Linked DNA regions of Homo sapiens: all the other regions are linked to region 3. The links are contacts of gene promoters, found by promoter capture Hi-C in human tissues and cell types (Jung and others, 2019). All regions are on one chromosome and are shown on one strand. Each heading gives the region's core, a stretch centred on a gene start or on the middle of the fragment in contact. The rest is flanking DNA. Distances are from core to core; before and after follow the strand shown. Region 1 overlaps PLA2R1 (phospholipase A2 receptor 1). Region 2 overlaps PLA2R1 (phospholipase A2 receptor 1). Region 3 holds the start of CD302 (CD302 molecule).

Region 1 (3,457 bases), core at 121-2,620, 140 kb before region 3:
AAACCATACAAAACATTTTGATTTTTCTTAGAAATAATAAGATAGAAAGCAGCTGTATGACAGTATCTATATTACTTCATCGCCACTGAAGTTTTTCTTTTTTTAAGAAAAATATCTTCTTTCAGGACCAAGTCACAGCATCATTCCTCTTGCGGTTGTACTGACACTGATAGTCATTGTGGCCATTTGCACACTTTCCTTCTGCATATACAAGCATAACGGTGGCTTCTTCAGGAGACTTGCAGGGTTTCGGAATCCTTACTATCCTGCAACCAACTTTAGTACAGTATATTTAGAAGAAAATATTCTCATTTCTGATCTTGAGAAGAGTGACCAATAATAATGAGGTCAGAGAATGCCACAGACACCAGGGTAAGTAAAGAAGACTAAACAGGAGTCTCATCTGTCTTTCCCTTTACAGCACAGATGCCATTAGAATGTGAATTGGGTCACTATTTTAATTATTCTTGAAGTGATTACTGGTTTTGAATCTTAACCAAATCAGATGGGTTTTGATTTATTCATTTCCCTAAACTGTGATCCATTCTTAAAAGGGGTAAATTATGCATTGGTTATTTTTCAGAAAGACAAGAACTATTAAAAGAAACTCCCTATTGAAAACTCTGAAATCAATGCGAATAATAGTTTTTGCATTAATGTATCTCTACTAAAATTTGGGGGAATTTTAAAACTAATCTGGTATCTATTCAGACATTTACCTGCACTCGTACCATTAAGAAAGACAGAAAGAAGCAAAAAAAAATTAATCTTGTATATGAGAGGAAAAGGAAAGGGCTTCTGAGAGGATTCTTAGTTGTTTCTTTTGAATTCACTTTTAATAGCAGGATTTGGAAAATACTAATTTCTGTGCTTAAGGGTCACAGGTTCTGGGCTCTCAACTGATATTTAAGGTGACATTCATTTTTATTAGGTCTAACATCTCAAGCTAAAGGAGAAAGAAAAATACCTTCTTTTAAATGGCAAAGACCTTCATTAGCAGCACACTTTTATAAACAACCATATAGTTAAAATGTGGCCTTAAACTTTCAATTACTAAATGATGATTAAGTTGGATATTTTAAAATGTCTTATACATAAGCTTAAAGTAATATATTGAAACTTTAACAGTTGTACTGTTAAAACTCATGGACTTTCTGAAAAACTAAATATATAAAATAATATGTAACACTCTTAATAACTGGAAGATATAAAATGTAACTTGGATTTAAAGGAGAAGAGCTAAAGATCTGAATTATAGTCTCATTAGAACCAGACAGATGTTGTTGAGAAGTACTAAATAAATTAGTAATCTAGATATCTTTATTATGTAAATGAGTTTAGGTGTTCTATTTAATAAACTATTTTCTGGGAACGATCTCCTTTTATATTAGTCTAGTTAGTGTAGATGGTAAATAATGATTATGATACTGTCTGTAAATAAAAAATTACAGATTTTATTTTCCTTTATTAGTTCCTTATAAAGAAAACAGCTTCATAATCAATATCTAAAAATTTACTCATTACATAACTGTTTATTGAATTTTATCAAGAAAAAAGTGTACTGAGCATGGTGGCACGCACCTGTAGTCCCAGCTACTTAGGAGGCTGAGGGAAGAGGATCAACTGAGCCCAGAAGTTGAAGGCTGCAGTGAGCTATGGTTGCACCACTGCACTCCTGCCTGGGCAACTGAATGAGACCCCACCTCAAAAAAGTGCTGTTCTAGAAACAGAGGTACTAAGGTGAGCAACTTGGGGTAAGGGCTATCTTTTCATGCCACTTATTTTCTAATGAGGGAAAATTGACAGTAACTCAGTAAAGAAATGCATATGCATAAAATAGCAAGTGGTTATGAAAATGAAGTAAGGTTCCATGATAGAGAGAAACTGGGGGACTCTCAGGGCCTCCCTGAGAGTGTGCATTTTAATTATTACAACCAACTGCCTCAAAACCAGTGGCCACTAATCACAAGGGGGAGCTCTGAGAGAAAGTATGAATGAATTTCTAAGAGGCAAACCATCATCATTAGAAATACAATTTGAAGAGCATACCACTAAGAATGGAATCCTTGTGGCCTGCAACAGTTAATCCAGCTTCCAAAAGCAGCTCTTTGCTACTGTTATAATAATTTACACACTGGGACAGTCTACCTCCATAATTTTTTTAAGTATTGGGACTTCATTTTTTAAAAGATATTATATTATGTGGCAGTTGCATATTTATGACTCAAAAAATAATTGGCTTGAACTCACCAGATGGTATAAAAGCCCAATTTAACCATCTTTTGAGTGGAATTAAAGTTCTGTTCTTTTCAATGGACTTGGTAAAAACTGCTAATCAACCAGCCTTCCAGTCAAGGTATATAGTCACACATAATAATTTGACAAAATACACCATTAGGAAAGTGATTTTGCAGAAAGAAGCTGTATTGCTTCTCAGTGCTCCATACTTTGATGTTTAGTATTGAACAACATCTCCAGATAATCTGGACCCATGGACAGATCACACACTTCTTGCCATTACTGAATTTGCAGAAATAGTACTGAAGTATTCTGCTACATTTTTATATTTGCATTTTTTTTGAAACTTTTTTTCATTTTTTTTTTTTTTTTTTGGAGATGGAGTCTTGCTCTGTTGCCAGGCAGGAGTACAGTGGCATGATCTCAGCTCACTGCAACCTTCAACTGCCTGGTTCGAGCAAGTTTCCTGCCTCAGCCTCCCGAGTAGCTGTGATTACAGGCACATGCCACCATGCCCAGCTAATTTTTGTATTTTTAGTAGAGACAGGGTTTCACCATGTTGTCCAGGATGGTCTCGATCTCCTGATCTCGTGATCCACCCGCCCCAGCCTCCCAAAGTGCTAAGATTACAGGCATGAGCCACCGCACCTGGCCTCATCTGTATTTTTAATGTGAACTAGATTTTATAGCTATAATTCGAAAAGAAAAAAAAGTAGCAGGTAATGGGTATATTATACACTATTTGCGTGATGGTTACACCAGACTTTACCACTACATACTGTATTTATGTAACAAAATTACACTTGTACTCCTTACATTTATGCCAAAAAAGCGGCAGGATCACAAATTCACACATAGTTAATGTGCCCCTCCAACAGTCAATTATGTTCTATGACTAACCTGAGGATCTTTATAGAATCTGAGTAATGGAAATGCCTGGGTTTTTCCATTTAACAATATATTGGGCTCTTACAGTTACAACAGTCTTCTTTCGGGTTAAATATTTCTTCTCTTGAAGGGTCCACTCCTTATTAAAGATAAGATTGAACTGAATGTTTACTTAAACGTTCAGTCTTTTGGAGTTTCTTTACTCTTCTCAAAATGGTGGTTGGATATATAAGAACTTGCTGTGTCCTGGTAGTGTTGAGGGGAGAAGGTGACAACTTACTGTGGATGTATGTTAGCTGGTGTCCACTGAGAATAGCTGTCTGGCCTCACT
Region 2 (3,561 bases), core at 356-2,855, 170 kb before region 3:
GTGTCATCATTTCATATGCTAATATGAAATTCCTCTTCAATTGTGGACAGCCAATTTTTAATCTAAGTGTTCAGTTATATTGGCAGGGCTTTCTCTCCTTTGTGATCTTCCTCCCATTGTTAATTTGAGAAATGAGGCCACTTGGATTTTTCACACATTCATTGAGTACCCACCAGACATTTGGCACTGACTTTTAAATTTTTTTAATATCTGGTAAATACACACAATATAGAATTCACCATTCTAGCCATTTTTGTCTACTGTTTACTAGTGTTAAGTATCACATACTCACACTGTCATTCAACAAATCTCCAGACCTTTTCCATCTTGCAAAACTGAAACTGTACCCATTAAACGACTCCCTGTTCTTCCTACTCTGAACCCCTTGGCAACTGCTGTTCTACTTTCTGTGTCTTTGAAATTGACTAATTTAGATACCTCATGTAAGTGGAATCAGACAGTATTTGCCTTTTTGTGACTGGCTTATTTCAGTTAGCATAATGTCCTCAAGGTTCACCCACACTGGCATGCGACAGGACTTCCTTTTGACGGTTGGACAATATTCCATTGTATGGATATACTACATTTTGTTTATCCAGTCATCCATTGGTGGACATTTGAGTTACGTCCCCCCTTAGCTAATTGATTGTATGTTTATTTCTTATATCACTGAATTTTAAAAATATATAGAATTACTATCCTCATTTTACATATGAGAAGACAGATGCTAACAAAATTGTGTGACTTTTCTGAAACTTCACAGTGAATACGCATCAGGCCAAGACGCACTTTTTGTTTTCTGACCCTGAGTCTGGTGGTCTTGCCCCTTTCCTATGCCTGCCACTTCACGTTGGCACTTAAGGACTGCCACTCCAGAAATGCAAATTAAAACAACAATGAGTGATTTGCCACTGCACAGCTACTAGAACGGCCCAAATCCAGAGCACTGACAACACTACATGCTGGCAAGGAGGCCGAACAACAGGAGCTCTCATTCACTCCTGGTGGGAATGCAGAATGGTACGGCCACTGTGGGAGACAGTTTGGCAGTTTCTTACAAAACTAAACATACTTTTACCATTTGATCCAGCAATCACACTCCTTGGTATTTACCCAAAGGAGTTGAAAACTTATGTATATGTAAAAACCTGTCCATGAATATTTATAACATCTTTATTCTTAATTGCCAAAACTTGGAAGCAATCAAGATGTCCCTAGTAGGTGAATAAATAAACTGGTACAACCACACAATGGAATATTACTCAGTGCTAAAAAGAAATTAGCTATCAAGCCTTTAAAACACATGGAGGAAACTTAAATTCATATTACTAAGTGAAAGAAGCCAATCTGAAAAGCCTACAATACTGTATGATTCCAACTATATGACATTCTGGAAAAGACAAAACTAGAGAGACAGTAAAAAGATCAGTGGTTGCCAGGTGTTGCAGGGAGGGAAGGATGAAGTTGTGGAAGATTCTTAGGGCAGTGAAAATTCTCTGTATGATAGCACAATGGTGGATGCATGTCACTAGACATTTGTACAAACTCATAGAATGTACAACACAAAGAGTGAACCCTAATGTAAACTATGGACTTTGGGTGGTTATGATGTGTTAATGCAGGTTCATCGATTGTAACAGATGTACCATTCTGGGGTGATGGGGCATGTGATAATGCGGGAGGCTGTGTATGTGTGGATCAGGTGGGAAATCTCTGTACCTTCCTGGTTTTTTTTGAGATGGACTCTCAGTCTGTCACTCAGGCTGAAGTGCAGTGACATGATCTCCCCTCACTGCAACCTTTATCTCCCAGGTTCAAGTGATTCTCTTGCCTCAGCCTCCCAGGTAGCTGGGGTTACAGGTGCCTGCCACCACGCCTGACTAATTTTTGTATTTTTAGTAGAAACGGGGTTTCATCATGCCAGGCTGGTCTCAAACTCCTGACCTCAGGTGATCCGCCCGCCTTGGTCTCCCAAAGTTGTACCTTCCTCTTAACTTTGCTGTGAACCTAAAACTGCTCTTTAAAAAATGAAGTATTTAATAATTTTTTTTTAAAAAAAAGGGTTGCCATGTCAGCTTAGCCCTATGACACAGTGAGCTCAGTGGCACCATGAGATATTTTCTAGAATAGTATAATTTACTCTAAAACTTTACTATAGTAATGAGGTACACTATTTTTTAATCATTGATACTTTCTGTATACTTCCTATTTTCTCAAACTATAAAATCTTTCTACCAGGTATAAATTATTTTCACATTTTAGTATGAGAAACTTGTAGCTAATATTCAATAAGACACTGAGTGTTACTAAGTCTTTTATTAAAACCTTTGGCAATTAGTTTTTTAAAGCATCTTTATGGTCCTAAATAATGTAACATAACATTTGCCATTTTAACCATTATTGAGTGTACAATTCAATGGCATTAATTACATGCACAATGTTATACAACCATCATCTCTATTTCCAAAACATTCTCACTATCCCAAACAGAAACTCTGTAACCATTAAGCACTAACTTCCTGTTCCCCATCCCCTGGTAACCTCTAATCTATTCTCTATCCCTGTGAATGTGCCTATTCTAGATATTTCATATTAGCGAACTCATACAATATTTGTCCTTGTGTCTGGCCTATTCGCATGATGTTTTCAAGGTTCATTTGTGCTTTAGCATATATCAAAATTGCCTTCCTTCTTGTGGCTGAATAATATTCCTGTGTGGCACGGGCGTGTGTGTGTGTGTGAATATTGCATATTTTGTTTATTCATTCATCTGTTGATGCGCACTTGGGTTGTTTTCACCTTTTGACTATTGTGAATAATGCTTCAATGAGCATTGGTGTGTAAGTCTCTGTTTGAGTCCCTATTTTCAATTCTTTTGAATGTATACCTACGAATAGAATTGCTGGGTCATATGGTAACTCAGTAGTTAGCTTTTTGAGGAACTGACAAATGTTCTTCCACAGCGACCAAACCATTTTACAATCCTGCTAGCCGTGTGTGAGGGTTTCAATTTCTCCACATCTTTGCCAACTCTGGCTATTATATAGCCATCCTAGAACACGTTAGGTGTTATTTCATTGTGATTTCGATTTGCATTTCTCTATTATCTGATGAAGTTGAGCATCGTTTCATGTGCTTGTTAGCCATTTGTTTATCTTCTTTGGAAAAATGTCTATTAAAGTCCTTTGTCCATTTTTAAATTGGATCATTTGCCTTTTTATTGTTGAGTTATAGGAATTCCTTGTATATTCTAAATATTAAACCCCATCCAATATGTGATTTATAAATATTTTCAGTCATTCTGTAGGTTGTCTTTTAACTTTCTTGATAATGTCCTTTGATGCACAAAAGTTTTTAATTTTGATGAAACCCAGTTATCTACTTTTTCTTCCGTCACTTGTGCTTTTGGTATCATACTTAAGAATTCACTGCCAAATCCAAGGTAATGAAGATTTGCCCCTGTGTGTTTGTCTAAGAGCTTCATGGTTTTAGCATTTATATTTAGGTTGTTGATACATTTTGAATTCACTCCAGTATGTGACAATTAGTTTTTCACAACTG
Region 3 (3,356 bases), core at 678-3,177:
AGTTTCCCCAATTATTAACATCTTGCATTAGCAGGTACATTTGTTACAGTGGATGAGCCAATATTGACACATTATTAACTAAAGTCCATTGTCCACACTAGGGTTCATCTTCGTTTTGTGCATTCTATGGGTTTTGACACATGTATAGTGATACACATCTACCATTACAGTATCCTACAGAATAATTTCATGGCTCTAAAAATCCTCTGTGTTCCATCTATTCATCCCCTCCTTCTTCCCACCCCAACCCCTGGCAACCATTTATCTTTTTACTGTCTCCATAGTTTTGCCTTGTCTAAAATGTCATATAGTTGGAATCATATAGTATGCAGTCTTTTCAGATTGGCTTCTTTCTCTTAGCAATACATATTTAAAGTTCTTCCATGTCTTTTTGTGGCTTGATAGCTCATTTAATTTTGGTACTGAGTAACATTTCATTGTTTGGATGTGCCATTGTTTATCCATTCACTTATTGAAGGACATCTTGTTTGCCTCTAGGTTCTGGCAATTATGAATAAAGCTGCTATCAACATTCATGTGCAGGTTTTTGTGTGTATGTAAGTTTTTAACTCATTTGGATAAATACCAAGGAGTTGTGATTGCTAGATGGTATGGTAAGAGTACGTTTAGTTTTGGAAGAAGCTTCCAAATTGTCTTCCAAAGTGGCTGTACCATTTTGCATTTGCACCAGCATTGAATGAGAGTTCTTTTTGCTCCACATCTTTGCCAGCATGTGGTCTTGTCAGTGTTTTTGGATTCTGGTATCTAATAGGTATGTAGTGGTATTTCATTTTTGTTTTCATATACAATTCAGCAATGACATATGATGTTGAGCATCTTTTCATCTATTTGCCATTATATAACTTCTTTGATGACGTGTGTATTCAGATCATCTGACCATTTTTTTTAACTGGGTCATTTGTTTTCACGTTGTTGAGTTTAGACTTGATTTTATAGAACTCTTTTGCCAATGACATGAGGCTTAAACAAGCACCCTTGCTTGACCCTGGCTAGTGTTGTCCAGAGGCCCTCATGGGTGAAGTATAATTGCACAGTTTATGCATACATTGTAGCAAACATAGCTTAAAGACTCTTCATCCAGGAGCTGGTAACAGAGAAAAGTTGTCTAAGAGACATAGTCCACTGAAAGGGGTCTTTGAAAAGGAGGATTCTGGCCAGTAGATCCAAAGAAGAAGGCTGGCAAACGCCACCTTAACCAACTGATCCAAGTTAACATCAGTGATGAGACATCGACATCTTGTCCTTCTCGAGCACGTACATCACTTCTGGGGAACTCTTTCCCAAAAAAGCGCAACCTGAATCCAATTAGAAGGAAATGTCAGACAAAATGAAACTGAGGGACATTCTACAAAACGACTGGCCAGTACTTTTTAAATGTGGTTTGATCGTGAAAGAAAAAGAATGACAGAGAACCGTCCTAGATTAAAGGGAGACTAAGGAGACACGACATGCAATGTATGATCCTGGATTGAATCTTGGAACAGAAAAGGACCCTTAGAGGGGCAATTAATGAAATGTGGTAAGTGCTGTAGATTAGCTAATCGCATTATCCCAGTGCGAGTGCCCTGTGTTTGATCACTGCACTGGCGTTATATACAATGTCAATATTTAGAGAAGCTGGCTGAAGGGTTACGGAAATCTCTTGTGCTGTTTTTGCAACATTTTCGAAAGTCCTAAATTATTTCAATTCAAATGAAAAGTTTAAAAAACAAAAATTAGAAGTTCCAGAAGGCCGCGCGCCAGCCGCTCCTGCGGGACGGGACACCCGGGTTCTCCTGGTGGGAGCCCCCAGTGCCGTTCACGTTCCGCCCGGGGGGGGGATTAAACTCGCACGCGAGAAGCACCGCCCCCGCTCCCGCCCCGCCCCGCTCCTCTCCGGCCGCGCAGCCGCTGCCGCCCACCCGCACCCGCCGTCATGCTCCGGGCCGCGCTGCCCGCGCTCCTGCTGCCGTTGCTGGGCCTCGCCGCTGCTGCCGTCGCGGGTAAGCCCTTACGTAGTCCCTCGCCGGGACCGTGCGCGACCGCCTTCGCCCCCTTCCCAACGCACGCTCTTCGTCCCCGCGCACCCGAGGGCGGCCCGCAGACGCAACACCCGGCCGGCCATCCCGCCCTTCCCTGCACGCCCGTCCCCCGTGGGTCCTGGCTCCGGGTCACCTCTCACCCGCCTGCCCTCGGGGAGGGGAGGTGGCCGAGAATAAGGGAGGGCTCTGTCTTCCTCGGAGTCCACATCCTCACCGCAGACCCCACTCCGCGGGGAGGGAACCCCCAAATTAGGCCAGTTGGCCGGAGAACTGAGGGACTTGGAGTCGCACGACGGGCGCCGTTTCAGGGCAATTTCGGGCTGAAATGAGAAGCGGGGACGTTGGTGGCGATTTCCCCTGCTGGTGCGCGGCCGGAGTGGGGTTGCTGGGATGGGGGTGGGGGCCGGAGGAAGTAGGCCCTCTTTTGCAAGCAGCGCTGTTTGTCTAGTTGGTTGGTGTTCAAGTTGTTTAAACAGGAAAACAGTTCAGCCAAATAACCCCTGGATGGAAGAGGAACGGGAATAGGCAAAGCTTGGATTTCACTGAAATCAAGGAGTTTTAAAGTTCTAGTCTGCTGTTGTGCAAGTGACATCTGAAAAATCACACACGTGATCATTCATTTACAAAACGACTCGTGAGGAAAATGCACAATTCTATTGACCGTGGTCTTTATTTTTAAAAAATTTCCATACAAGCATGTCAAAAATATGTGGATGGGGAGACTCTGGAGAACACAGACTTCCAAAAACACCACTGACTGAATAATTCCAGGAATTAAAGAGCAAAATAAACAAGAACTAAATGAGTACTTGTGTGGGCTTAAATAAAGTGCAAGAGATTTAAATAAAATGCAAGAGATTCCCCCCCCCCACCCCTTGCCCCAGATTTCACTGCGTTTTTATAATAACTGCCTGCTCGAAGTCTACTGACAGGAATATTTCAGTGGACCTCAGTGTTGGAGGCAGCAGCAGCTCAGAACTTGGATACAAACCCAAGGTTCCTTTCTTGAAAACTTCTGTGGACCTGCATTTATGACTGGTTGTGACATCTGCTGCCTATCAAAGGGGCAGAAACAAGATGTGCCCATGTTCACATTGTTCAGACTGGGAACATTAATTTTGTCTAAGACAAAGCTGGGCTGTCTCTGAACCCTCCTTCTGCACACCCTCATTTTGCGAGCCAGTAACATCTCAACTCTCATGTAAACCACCCTCTGCGAGGCTGTGCATTTGTACTTTAGGCTAGTCGAATTTTCTTGTCAGATTTTTCTTTCTTGTCAGACTTTTAAAGAAAATCAGTTTCTAGATTTTGGTA

The links. The method cuts DNA at HindIII sites, captures the fragments that hold promoters and counts their contacts. A contact is called where the count stands out against the background at its distance.
Region 1: a fragment that was not itself captured here is called in contact with the fragment with the promoter of CD302 in region 3 in 1 of the 25 tissues and cell types used here (lymphoblastoid cells).
Region 2: a contact is called between a fragment that was not itself captured here and the fragment with the promoter of CD302 in region 3, in 1 of the 25 tissues and cell types used here (lymphoblastoid cells).

The regions. Positions count from the first base shown.
Region 1 is chr2:159,938,661-159,942,117 of GRCh38, reverse strand. It overlaps PLA2R1 (phospholipase A2 receptor 1), which reads left to right. Exons shown (of 30, transcript NM_007366.5): 30 at 126-3,457. The coding sequence ends at 340. Among named protein-coding and RNA genes, the nearest start is that of LY75-CD302, 36 kb to the right of the region's middle. RefSeq lists an enhancer at 1,852-1,901. The HindIII fragment of the contact is 6,614 bases long and covers 1-3,457 here.
Region 2 is chr2:159,963,201-159,966,761 of GRCh38, reverse strand. The region is part of intron 20 of PLA2R1 (phospholipase A2 receptor 1); the gene reads left to right. Among named protein-coding and RNA genes, the nearest start is that of LY75-CD302, 60 kb to the right of the region's middle. The HindIII fragment of the contact is 7,152 bases long and covers 1-3,561 here.
Region 3 is chr2:159,796,779-159,800,134 of GRCh38, reverse strand. It overlaps CD302 (CD302 molecule), which reads left to right and starts at 1,927. Exons shown (of 6, transcript NM_014880.5): 1 at 1,927-2,003. The coding sequence starts at 1,937. All of the region lies in intron 33 of LY75-CD302 (LY75-CD302 readthrough), which reads left to right. LOC124906083 (a long non-coding RNA gene) reads right to left here. Exons shown (of 2, transcript XR_007087273.1): 1 at 2,183-3,356; 2 at 1-1,316. The HindIII fragment of the contact is 5,989 bases long and covers 1-3,053 here.